2 separate regions of the Homo sapiens genome follow, and region 1 is linked to region 2. The links are contacts of gene promoters, found by promoter capture Hi-C in blood cells and fetal thymus (Javierre and others, 2016). All regions are on one chromosome and are shown on one strand. The core of a region is centred on a gene start or on the middle of the fragment in contact, and the rest is flanking DNA. Distances in the headings are between cores, read along the strand shown.

The links. Contacts are between HindIII fragments. The CHiCAGO score rates a contact against its expected background, and 5 or more counts as called.
Region 1: the fragment with the promoter of EXPH5 here is called in contact with the fragment with the promoter of ALKBH8 in region 2 in 2 of 17 cell types (monocytes and non-activated CD4 T cells); the score reaches 6.8 in monocytes.

The regions. Positions count from the first base shown.
Region 1 is chr11:108,591,784-108,597,043 of GRCh38, forward strand. EXPH5 (exophilin 5) reads right to left here and starts at 1,985. Exons shown (of 6, transcript NM_015065.3): 1 at 1,635-1,985. The coding sequence starts at 1,753. RefSeq lists silencers at 1,462-1,521, 1,802-1,851, 1,872-2,171. The HindIII fragment of the contact is 3,661 bases long and covers 83-3,743 here.
Region 2 is chr11:107,562,980-107,568,089 of GRCh38, forward strand. ALKBH8 (alkB homolog 8, tRNA methyltransferase) reads right to left here and starts at 2,756. Exons shown (of 12, transcript NM_138775.3): 1 at 2,622-2,756. RefSeq lists enhancers at 2,107-2,625, 2,429-2,918, 2,626-3,142, 2,989-3,048, 4,977-5,056. The HindIII fragment of the contact is 7,705 bases long and covers 1-4,663 here.

The sequences.
Region 1 (5,260 bases), core at 735-3,234, 1.0 Mb after region 2:
CGTGAGTTGCAATAGAGAAAACACAATAAGGCAAGCAAGCATCAGGTCAAAAATAAAAAGTCAAGATAACATCTTAAATGAAAGCTTCTCTCCTTGTTATTTTCTAACTCTCCCCTCAATTTCCCCAAATATACAATGGATCACTTAAGAAGCCCCATCCTCTTCAGAGACAAGAAACATTTCCAATAACACACACTGAGAATAACCGCAGTTTCTTAGTGCCTTTGGAATATGCACTGAAATTCCGTGCAGTTCTGAAATTCTTCTTCTGAAAGTTGGGTGTGCCTTGTGCGGTGCATGTGCATATGTGTAGGTACATTATGCACGTGGGTGTGTGTGGGTGTGGCATACTGTTCTCCTGAAGGCACACTTTCTACACTGTTCAGGGGAGGGGAATGATAAAGCCACTTTTTCTCAAGGCAGATGGTATGAAATCCATATTCCCCAACCTCAAATATTCCTTCATCCCTCAAAGAGTCATGTTTAGGGGAGAAGGGTGAAGTCAGGGCATTGGGCTTAGTGTATTCTAATTCTTTCTACAAAGACCAACTAGATTTTCCAATTTGAAGAGGGTCCCTGGAGGGTTTCTTTTGTCGGCGGTGGGGGACAGGCAATTCTAGAAAGAATTGGGAACCTGGAACTCGCATTAGCAAGCAGTTGATCATAAAACAAAATGACTTGCTAAATTCCAATCAATGGCACACAGTGTGGTCTGAGAGTGATGTCCTGAATTCCCTTCCACAGTTATCTAGAGAAGGACTTAGATGGATATATTCCAATATTGGCGAGAGAGTCCCTTTAATTCATTCCAGCACTTATCCCACACTTCCCCAGCAGAAAAACTGGTTAATGTACATCCTGGGTAATTATCTGTGTCTCTGGATTTCATTCTTTAGTAACTAATCCCTCACCTACAACAGTGTATAGTAAGGTCAAGGATGAAATTTCTCAGAAACTCGCTCCCCACAGCACCACGCACAAGAAGACCCACCCATTCCAGCCAACCCCGTGTGTCCAAGTCCCATTCGCCCACATAAGCCTCTATTTGACAAATTCCTCGAGCTCCTACCCTTGGGGTGGGGACCTTTCGCCTCCCGTGAGGTGCCGGCTCTCCCGTGCTTCGCTGACTGCCCGCATTGGGTGGGGAGATTCGCCTCTGGTGCCGAGGGAAAACTGCGTTAGGCGAGGGTGGAAGCTCTGTCGGACCCGTGCGAGCACGTGGGTGCGCGCGGGCCGCGGAGTGAGCAGCAGCCAGGATTCCTCTCCAGATCGCGCCCCCGCCGCATTTCATTGCCTGAAACGGCCCACGCCCCGCGATGGCCCAGCAGACACCCGGCACAGCACAGCGTCACTGCGCGGCCCCCGCAGCGCACGGACCCCCCCACCCTGCCCGACCCCAGACCCGCAGCCGAGCCCGTCTGGTATGTGGTGGGTGGAGAGGGTACCAACTAAGCATCCCAAAGTCCTTCAGGGAGCAACTCCGCGCAGTTTTCTCTTCCCGACCCGCAGCCTCCGCAGCAGCCGCTCGGAGCACCCCCGGGCAGGTGCCCCGCGCGAGCTCAGCGCCTTCCCCGCGGATCCCCGGCCCCTGCGGGACCCAGGCCCAGGACAAAAGAAATGAATTTGCTCTGTACCTGATCCTGTCCTTCTCGGCCCTCTGTAACTCCTCATTCCTTTCCAGCACCTGAAGGATCTTCCTGGCCTCTTCGTCATTTAAGAAACTGAAATCAAACGCCGGAGGAACTTTCGTCATTTTCTTTACTGTGTGTGAGTTACACTTAAGCTCCTTGGCGCCTCCTGTTAGGAAGGCATTTTTCAACCTGTACAAGACCAGTTTCACGAACTTGATCCCACAGCCAATAATAAGTCCGCCCCTTTGAAAGTCTAAAACCACAAACCTAGGGAACGCCCACACCTGAAGGGCTCATATTGACAATACCTTAATGACATGTTTCTCTCAACCTGTCCAACCGAGATGCAAAGTGAACGGCTAAAGGGAGAGAGGGAACCAATCCCGTTCCAAGGGGGCGGGCCCTCCCTTGTCCCCTCCCTCGTCCCCTCCCTCGTCTCGTCCCGTCCCTCGTCCCCTCCCTCGTCCCCTCCGGTCACCCTCCCCGCCCCCTATCTGAGTTGTTAAGCAAACAAGCCTACATAATTCTGCCTCTTAAGTGAGGCAAGGCTAAGTGTTGGCGCCAAAGTATTTGCTTTTGCTGTTGCTGTTTGCTCGCAGAACTTGAGCTTGATTAGTAAAGGAGTGAAAAAGGAGATTCATGACTAATCCTCCCTTTCAATAATTAAGAGCCCATAGAAAATAGAATTGCAAGTAGGGTTTGTAACTGGCAAAAGGGTTACTTATCTGAAAGACCAGGAAGAACTAAACTCAATTACACTACTGACTGTGGATGAACCTGGCTGAAGGGCGGAAATTAGTGTATCCTTGGAAACGAATTATTTGCCAAGCCTCTCATCCCACAGACACCCCCACCTCCACTGTCCCACAAAAGTCATTCTTAGACTTTAGAAACAAACAAACAAACAAACAAAACCGTTTATGGTATTTTAGGAGAAGACAGCCCAGAAGCAAAGGACTGTAGAAAACACCTGTTAGAAGTTTTCTGTAAGATTTTATTATCATCTTAATAAACTCAGAGAAGTAATACACATGCCATTTAAAAATACCTAATCCTCTGGTGAAAGCAAATGGTAATCCTATGAAGCCACAGAAATAGCTTTCCTAGAAAGTCAATTGTTCCACAATGCAATGAAGAATAATAGAAACTTATAAAGATATTCACATATATACTTTTTTTTTAATTATCAAGGCTTTTACAGAAAACATGTTTTTATCTTGGCTTCACTTCCTACCCAAAAATAACTCTGTCAGATTGACTTTCCTGCCCCATAGCCTTAATTTGGTCATTTTGAAGATGGTGGTGATGATTACTAACATATAAAATGTACTTCTACATATATCATTTCTTTTCATGGCACATAAACCCAATTAAAATTTTGTATCTGTACAAGAACATGATATCAAAAATTGCCACTTGTGTTTTGTTCTCTGGGCTACCCCATTTGATCATCATTATTTAAAACATGCCTAGGCAGCTAGCCATTCAGATAACTTTCTGTGGGTGTCTGTTATTTGTGTGAACCAGGAACCAATTTTGTTCACCCATGGTGTACACAATACAGAACTCCTTTATAAATAGTGTCTGTATTAATGATCCTGTTTTGGGAGTATGTCTTGTATATGGTGTCCAGTTTTTCTAGTGTGTTCATTTATTCAGCATACACATGGGACTTTTCAATATGGTCACTGGTGGGATTTTACACTGTTTCCAGTATATCAGTGAACTGATTTCAACCAACGTATCCTGGTGCCTATTACATGAAGGCATCACACACTGTGAACAACACAGTCCTTGTCTTTAGAAAGTTTGTAATCCAGTGGGAGAGATACACAAATAGAAAGATGACTATGTAAAAAAGAACATAATAGAGGAATAAAGAAAATTCCATGAGCACACAGAAAAGTTAGTGCCAACTGAGTGGATGGAGAGAGGATACGGTATTTAGGTTGCTGCATGAAGAGTCAGATTTCAAGAGGAAGAAATAGGGGGTGGTGGGAGGAGATGTGTGAGTCTATTCTAGGCAAGGGGATCAGCGTGCTGAATAGCAGAAGTACAGTCTAGGAATCTTCTCATATTCCCTCAACCTCTTTAATGGCCAGACTGAACAAAAGCTTGGAAGCTAGAAAACACTGGAGCATGTTCATGGATTGTTAAGTGATCTGTTTTGGCAGAGCATGTAGTCTCCACAGGGGTAAAATCTTCCTCTTTTTATGTAGAAAGCACAAATCTACACATGATACACAGATACACAGTATATCTGAAGTATTAACATTGCACAAGGGAGGTGATTGTGAAAAAAGTTCTAAAAAGGTGCATTGTGGGGACAGTAGTGAGAAAGAGGTTTAGAAACACTGGGCTAGTGCTCAGAGCACAGTGAGCTGAAAGGTAGGCTGAGCTCTGACTATGAATGCCATGTGATGAAATCTAGACTTCATTGTGTAAGCACTGAGGAGCTAATACAGGTTTTGAGGGTGATAATGATACAGTTAAAATTGAACTTAAGGCCGGGCACAGTGGCTCACATCTGTAGCCCCAGCACTTTGGGAGGCGGAGGCGGGCAGATCACGAGGTCAGGAGATTGAGACCATCCTGGCTAACACAGTGAAACCCCGCCTCTACTAAAAATACAAAAAATTAGCCCAGCATGTGCACCTGTAGTCCCAGCTACTCGGGAGGCTGAGGCAGGAGAATCGCTTGAACCCGGGAGGCGGAGGTTGCAGTGAGCCGAGATCACACCACTGCACTCCAGCCTGGGCAACAGAGTGAGACTCTGTCAAAAAAAAAAATTGAACTTTGGGTAGATTACTCTGATAGCAGTAGACAAGAAGAGTAGAGTGAAGATGGCATCAAGGAAACCATTGTGTTGGAATGCTGATGCAGGAGAAAGGGAAAGAGGACCCAACCAAAGGCAATGTAAGTGAGAGTAGAAAAAGAGGGTGGAATTCCAAAGATATTGGCTGGATTTGATAACTCATTAAAAAGGAGGATTAAGAAAGACAGAGACGCAAAGATGATGCAAGATCTCAAGAGAGATGTCTAAAAGGAGACCAGTCTATTTGATAGTATGAGAAACAAGGTTTGTCAAGAAATCAGGTGTTCAGTTTTTGGCACAAGCAGTTTGAGGTACCTGCAATTCATCCACATGGCAATTTAAAATGAGAAATGTGGGACTCAAGTTCTTGAAACAGGGATGGAGAAGTAGACTGGGAAGTTGTCTGCTTAAAAATGGTTGCCAAAACCCTAAGATAGCAAAGGAAGGATGAGGAGCAGAAGCTGAGTTGAGAACTTTGAGTGTCCAACCTCATCAGACTTCAGCACTGAGGCATGCTTCAGCCCTGGGTTGTGGCACAATGGGGCATACTATTGAGAAATTTTTATATTGAGAAATTTACAAGGCATTGGGGACTGCCCTGGAAACCATACAGAACTGCTTTTGTGGAGTTTTAAACACAATGCTCTTAAAATTAAAATAATTCTCCAAAGGTTTGTTTTATGGGCTTATTTAGCCGGAGGCAAGCAGCCATTTTCAATCTTAGTATCCGGTAATCCTGGCAACCTTTTGCCCAGGCTCTCAGCTAAAGAGATACTCATCAGTTTAGTATTTAATAGTCACAGCTGGATAGAAA
Region 2 (5,110 bases), core at 1,506-4,005:
AGTGCTACCACTTCAAAACTGGAAAGTCAGGAGGAGGTTCAGGAAGAGCTGCTCAGTATAGGAGGTAATGAGTCATATTTAGGATAGAATAATGTTTAAGGTATTGTGAGATACAGAGTTGCAATGTCTGGCTGGCAAGTGACAAAATAAAGTGGCTCCTAGGAAAGGAACTGAGGTTAAAAAGGTTTAGGAGTCAGTCGTCATTAAGACAGGAAGGGGATAAGTGAATGGACATGTCTAACATTGCATTAATTATAATTATTTGTTTTAGTATCTGTCCCCTTCCACTGAACTGTGAGCTTTCTGAAGGCGGGATTAAATCACACTTTTCTTAGTTACCACAGAGCCTCATTCAGTGCTATGAGGTAATATAATACAGTGTTTAGGAGTCCATGTTCCAGGTTCAAATCTCAGCTCAACCACTGATTATTAGCTGTATAATCCTAGATGAGTTGGTTATATAGCTCTGTGTTCCAGTTTCTTTATCTAGGAATAGGGATAAAAATAATAGTGCCTATCCCATAGCTTTCTTAGAATTAAATTTATTTATTATTATTTATTTATTACTGTTGATTTTCAGAAGCAGCAGATCAAAATGGCTTAACAAAACAAAGAATATCTGAGGCCCTTCAAAGGAGCTATTTTAGAGCCATTCCATTTCAAGATCTTCATCTGTGGAACAGCAACTTTGCAGTATGTCATGGAGAACAAGGGATGACTGCACTACAGAATTTTTAATATTTCACATGAGCAAACACTGCAAAGAAGGAATGAGAAAGAAACGATGCTAAATATATCTTTTTAAAATGTCTGCCACTAAGAGTCCAGCACCAGCAGGTGGAGCCTCATAACCACATTTTTGTCATCCCTTTCCTTTTTCTCTCCCTCAGTCATGCAATATTATTGCACGTGAAGAAAGACACTAAATGGCCTTTGAGGCTCAGTTTTCCACCATTCCAGTGGCTAGGCAATGTGCTGGCCCAACATATCTGAGTCATCTCAACAAGGATAGGCTGATACCAGCTGCTGAGGTCTGGAGGTGCCCCCTTCTGACAAAGCCACTTCCCTGGCCAGAGTTTCCACTAATGCACAGATACTTGGATGCTCCCTGTGACATTACTGGAGTGAAGTCACTATTAACTATGATACTAGCCATGCTGAGTCCGGTTCAGCCAGCTCCAGCCTAAGCGTACTCTCTGTGGGATAATGAAAGTTTGGAGATTATGCATGCTCTGCTACTTGCTTGTTAGTGAGTTTAAAGCCAATATATCCTACTAGATATTGCCCTACGTGGTAATAGTAGTATGTACATCATGCCCTCCTTGAATAATAGAGAGCCTATTATGAAACAAGCAGTATAGACAAATGTTCCTATACTTATATGTTTAAAAAAATGCAAAAACCATGATTACTTTTGCACAACCTAATAATTAATAGCAAAGATTAGAAAGAATCTAACTTCCTATCAAACGAGGCCCAATTTTAACGTACGGCACTGGTATACAGAGTTTACATATAAATCTTTAGGACACACAAGAAATTGGTGATATGGGTTGCCTCCAGGGAAGGAAAATGGATCGATGAGTAAAGGAATGAAAGGGAGCTTTCTTCTTTCATGACTTTTGAAGTTAGTAGCTATTTAAACTGCATCATCTATTTAAAAAGAAAATAAAGATTTAAAATTTTTAGAAAAAAATTCACCCCATCACTTGTCACGGCACCCCGTTTTAACTCTTTGAATAACACTTACTACATATTTTCTTACACTCTCATTAATTTGTTTATTCTGTCTTTCCCCATAACTGAATAAAGAACACTCACTCCATGAAGTAGAGATTTTGTCTCTATTGTTCACCCTGTAGCACCCAGCACTTAAACAGGATTTAGCACCTAGCAGCCACTCAATAACCATTTGTCGAATAAACCTAAATCGACTTTGCTGTCTTACCTCCTAAACCTCCCCTCCTCCAGAATTCTGAGTTTGGTGGCCTTCTTCAACGTTTTCATTAACACCTAGCATGGACCTCTATCTCTAGAGTTCTCACATGGTATTATAATTGCCTGTTTGTGTTGGGCTTCGGCCAGAAAACTGTCATCTATTTAAGGGCACAGACTTGGTGCCTGACATACAACTGACAATAAATATTCAATGAAATCTATCAAAATAACAGGCTGACGCTACCAGAGGTCCAGGAGTCGCAGGGATTGCTCAAATAAGAGCACAGGAAGACTCAGCTGCGCAAGGGATCAGATCATCAGCACTGCCTTTGCATCGATGCAATCAGACCGATTGTCACCGGTCAGAAAAGCCCCAGAAGCGCCACACTAACACGCCCCATGTTGCAACCGTCCTCTCCAACCCCAAAGAAAACAGAAGATTGACACAGGCACCACGTGAGCGCCCGAACCAAACACAAACACATGCACCCTAAACACTGAGAGAACCACCCAACGCAGACACCCTACTGCCCACACTGCACCAAGGGCGCCTCTGGGATCCATCCCCTTTCCCTAGGTTCTCAGCCCTAGCTGGCAAGGCGGATAGAGAAGACCGGAAGAGGCTGAAAAGAGGAAGCGGTGATTTGCTGCCCGTATGCCCGCCAGTAAGAAGTGCCACACACCTCCGCTTCGGCTCAGGCCGGATTCTCACCATGCGTGTGCCTTCTTCTTTGCCAGCCTCTCCACTCTAGCACCAGAACACCGCAGCGGATACTTGCACGCCATCTCCCCTGGGCGCGGCCATGTTGGAGAAAACTGCACTACATTTCCCATGAGCCCGCGGGACAACGAACAGCGCTCCCACAGTCCTCTTCGCCTCCCAGAGCCCGGGAGTGACCCTTTTTCGACCAAGTGTCTTTGTAAAGTGCTGTCTGTTACACTGAAAATTCAGTTGTCTTTTTGGGGGGAGTAGTAATAATTGGTAGTGCAGCTATATTTTTATCTGTTGCTCTCCAAATGGACAAGGTCAAACAGGTTTGGGCCCTTTGGTCTTTCAGCAATGTCCCCTGGCACCTTCTATTCTTCGTGCATATTTCCTCCTGAATCTTATTAGAGGTGAGAAAGGAAAATAAATCTTGGTGCCACAAAATCACTAAGCTAAAGGGAAAAGTCAAGCTAGGAACTGCTTGGGCAAACCTGCCTCCCATTCTATTCAAAGTCATCCCTCTGAGTCATCCCTCTGCTCACTGAGATAAATGCATATCTGATTGCCTCCTTTGGAAAGGCTCATCAGAAACTCAAAAGAATGCAACCATTTGTCTCTCAGCTGTAATACGTGCGACCTGGAAGCCCCCTCCTCACTTTGAGTTGGCCCGCCTCTGCTTCAATTTGTCCCTCCTTTCTGGACGGAACCAATGTTCATCTTACATATATTGATTGATGCCTCATGTCTCCCTAAAATGTATAAAACCAAGCTGTGCCCCGACCACCCTGGACACATATCATCAGGACCTCCTGAGGCTGTGTCACGGGCGGGCGTCCTTAACTTTGGCAAAATAAATTTCCTAAATTGTCTGAGACCTGTCTCAGATATTCAGGGTTCACAGAGATATGGGAGAGGATCCTGGGGTCTGAAAGATGGCATTGCATGGGCGGGAGGGAAGGAAGTGAATATGCATGAATGTGCCAGGGGAATGGTGAGTACCACAGAGTAATAGAAAGATGTGTGGAAGAATGGTGAAGGAAGCAAGACAGAATTCTGTAGGCCTGCAGAGTGGGAGTTGCAGGGAGGAAGGTTAGAGAAATGAAATGATATGACCAGAGCTTCTTGTGGCAAGTGGGAGGAGAGACTAGAAGATGACTGATGAAGTGAAAAGTAACGAAATATTAACAAGCCCAGTAGTGGCAGAGGGAAAGAAAAAAGAGCTGGTAACAGATCATAAGTAAAAGACAAAGGAGAGGGTGATGATTAGCAGTTGTTCCTGCTCTGTTATTTGTTATATAAATGTACCATAATCCTTCTACCTGCATTGGTTTATGAGCTATGTGAGTGCAGGGAGGGAAAGGTGTAGGGGAAGAGGAATCACCTTCCCATGTTGTTGATACAATGGCCCCTATCTGCAGTGCACCACAGTGGACTAACAATAAAATAGCTGGCTGACCAGGAAAAGTGGCAGTGAAAAAAGAGTGCTGTTGAGTGGCGGAATGATTTGTGTGGAGAATAGGTTACAAACATGAAAGAACAGAAGAGGCAGATAGGCAAGCATTGCAATAGTCTAGGAAAGAAAGGGTGAGACCAAAACTTAATAGTAAAAATGAGGAGGCAAGTGCAAGCTGGAGAGGTCAAATCCACCAGACATTGCAAGCTACATGAGTATAAGAGGACACACAGGAAATCTCCCCATTGCAATTCTGCTTCTGCACTACTGGATGCTTTCAAAAACACATCCCCATAGAGCTTTCTGCAATGATGGAAATATTTTATAGTTTGAGCTGTCCAACATAATAGACACTAGTTAACGTGTGGCTTATGAGCATTTCAAATGTGGCTAGTATGACTAAGGAAATGAATTTTGAATGTTTAAATTTTAGTTTCAATTAAACTTAAGTAGCCACAAGTGGCCGGTGTCTACCAAACTGGATAACAGTGTAAAATATCCTCTTATCTCTTACTGATCAAATTCAATTACTTCATCTCAGTATTTGTCCTGCTTTAAGGTGCTGAAGCTTTTAAAACTTTTTTTCTGCACCTCTCTTTTAATTCTCTTTATACGATCTGATCACTTACTTTCAGAATTTTCCACTAGTTTCTCTCACTCTGTCCGTAATTAAATATAGGCAATCCCTCAGATTTTGAGTTTGACTCTTTTCTGTTATTCTAGTCTCTTCCTGTCTGCCCTCCCCAGAGTTATAAAGAGATTTGTGAATCATTCCCTAATCTTTATCTTCAGCCCTGGCTTCTATTAAAAGAAAAACTTTAGCCAAATTAAATTTAAAGGAGTTTAATTGAGCAATGAACTTTTGATTCGTAAATCGGGCAGCCCCCAGAATCACAGCAGATTTGGAGAGACTCCAGCACAGCCATGTGGTGGAGGATTTGTAGACAAAAAAAAAAAAAGGAAATGATGTACAGAAATCAGAAGTGAGGTGCAGAAACAGCTGTTATTGGTTA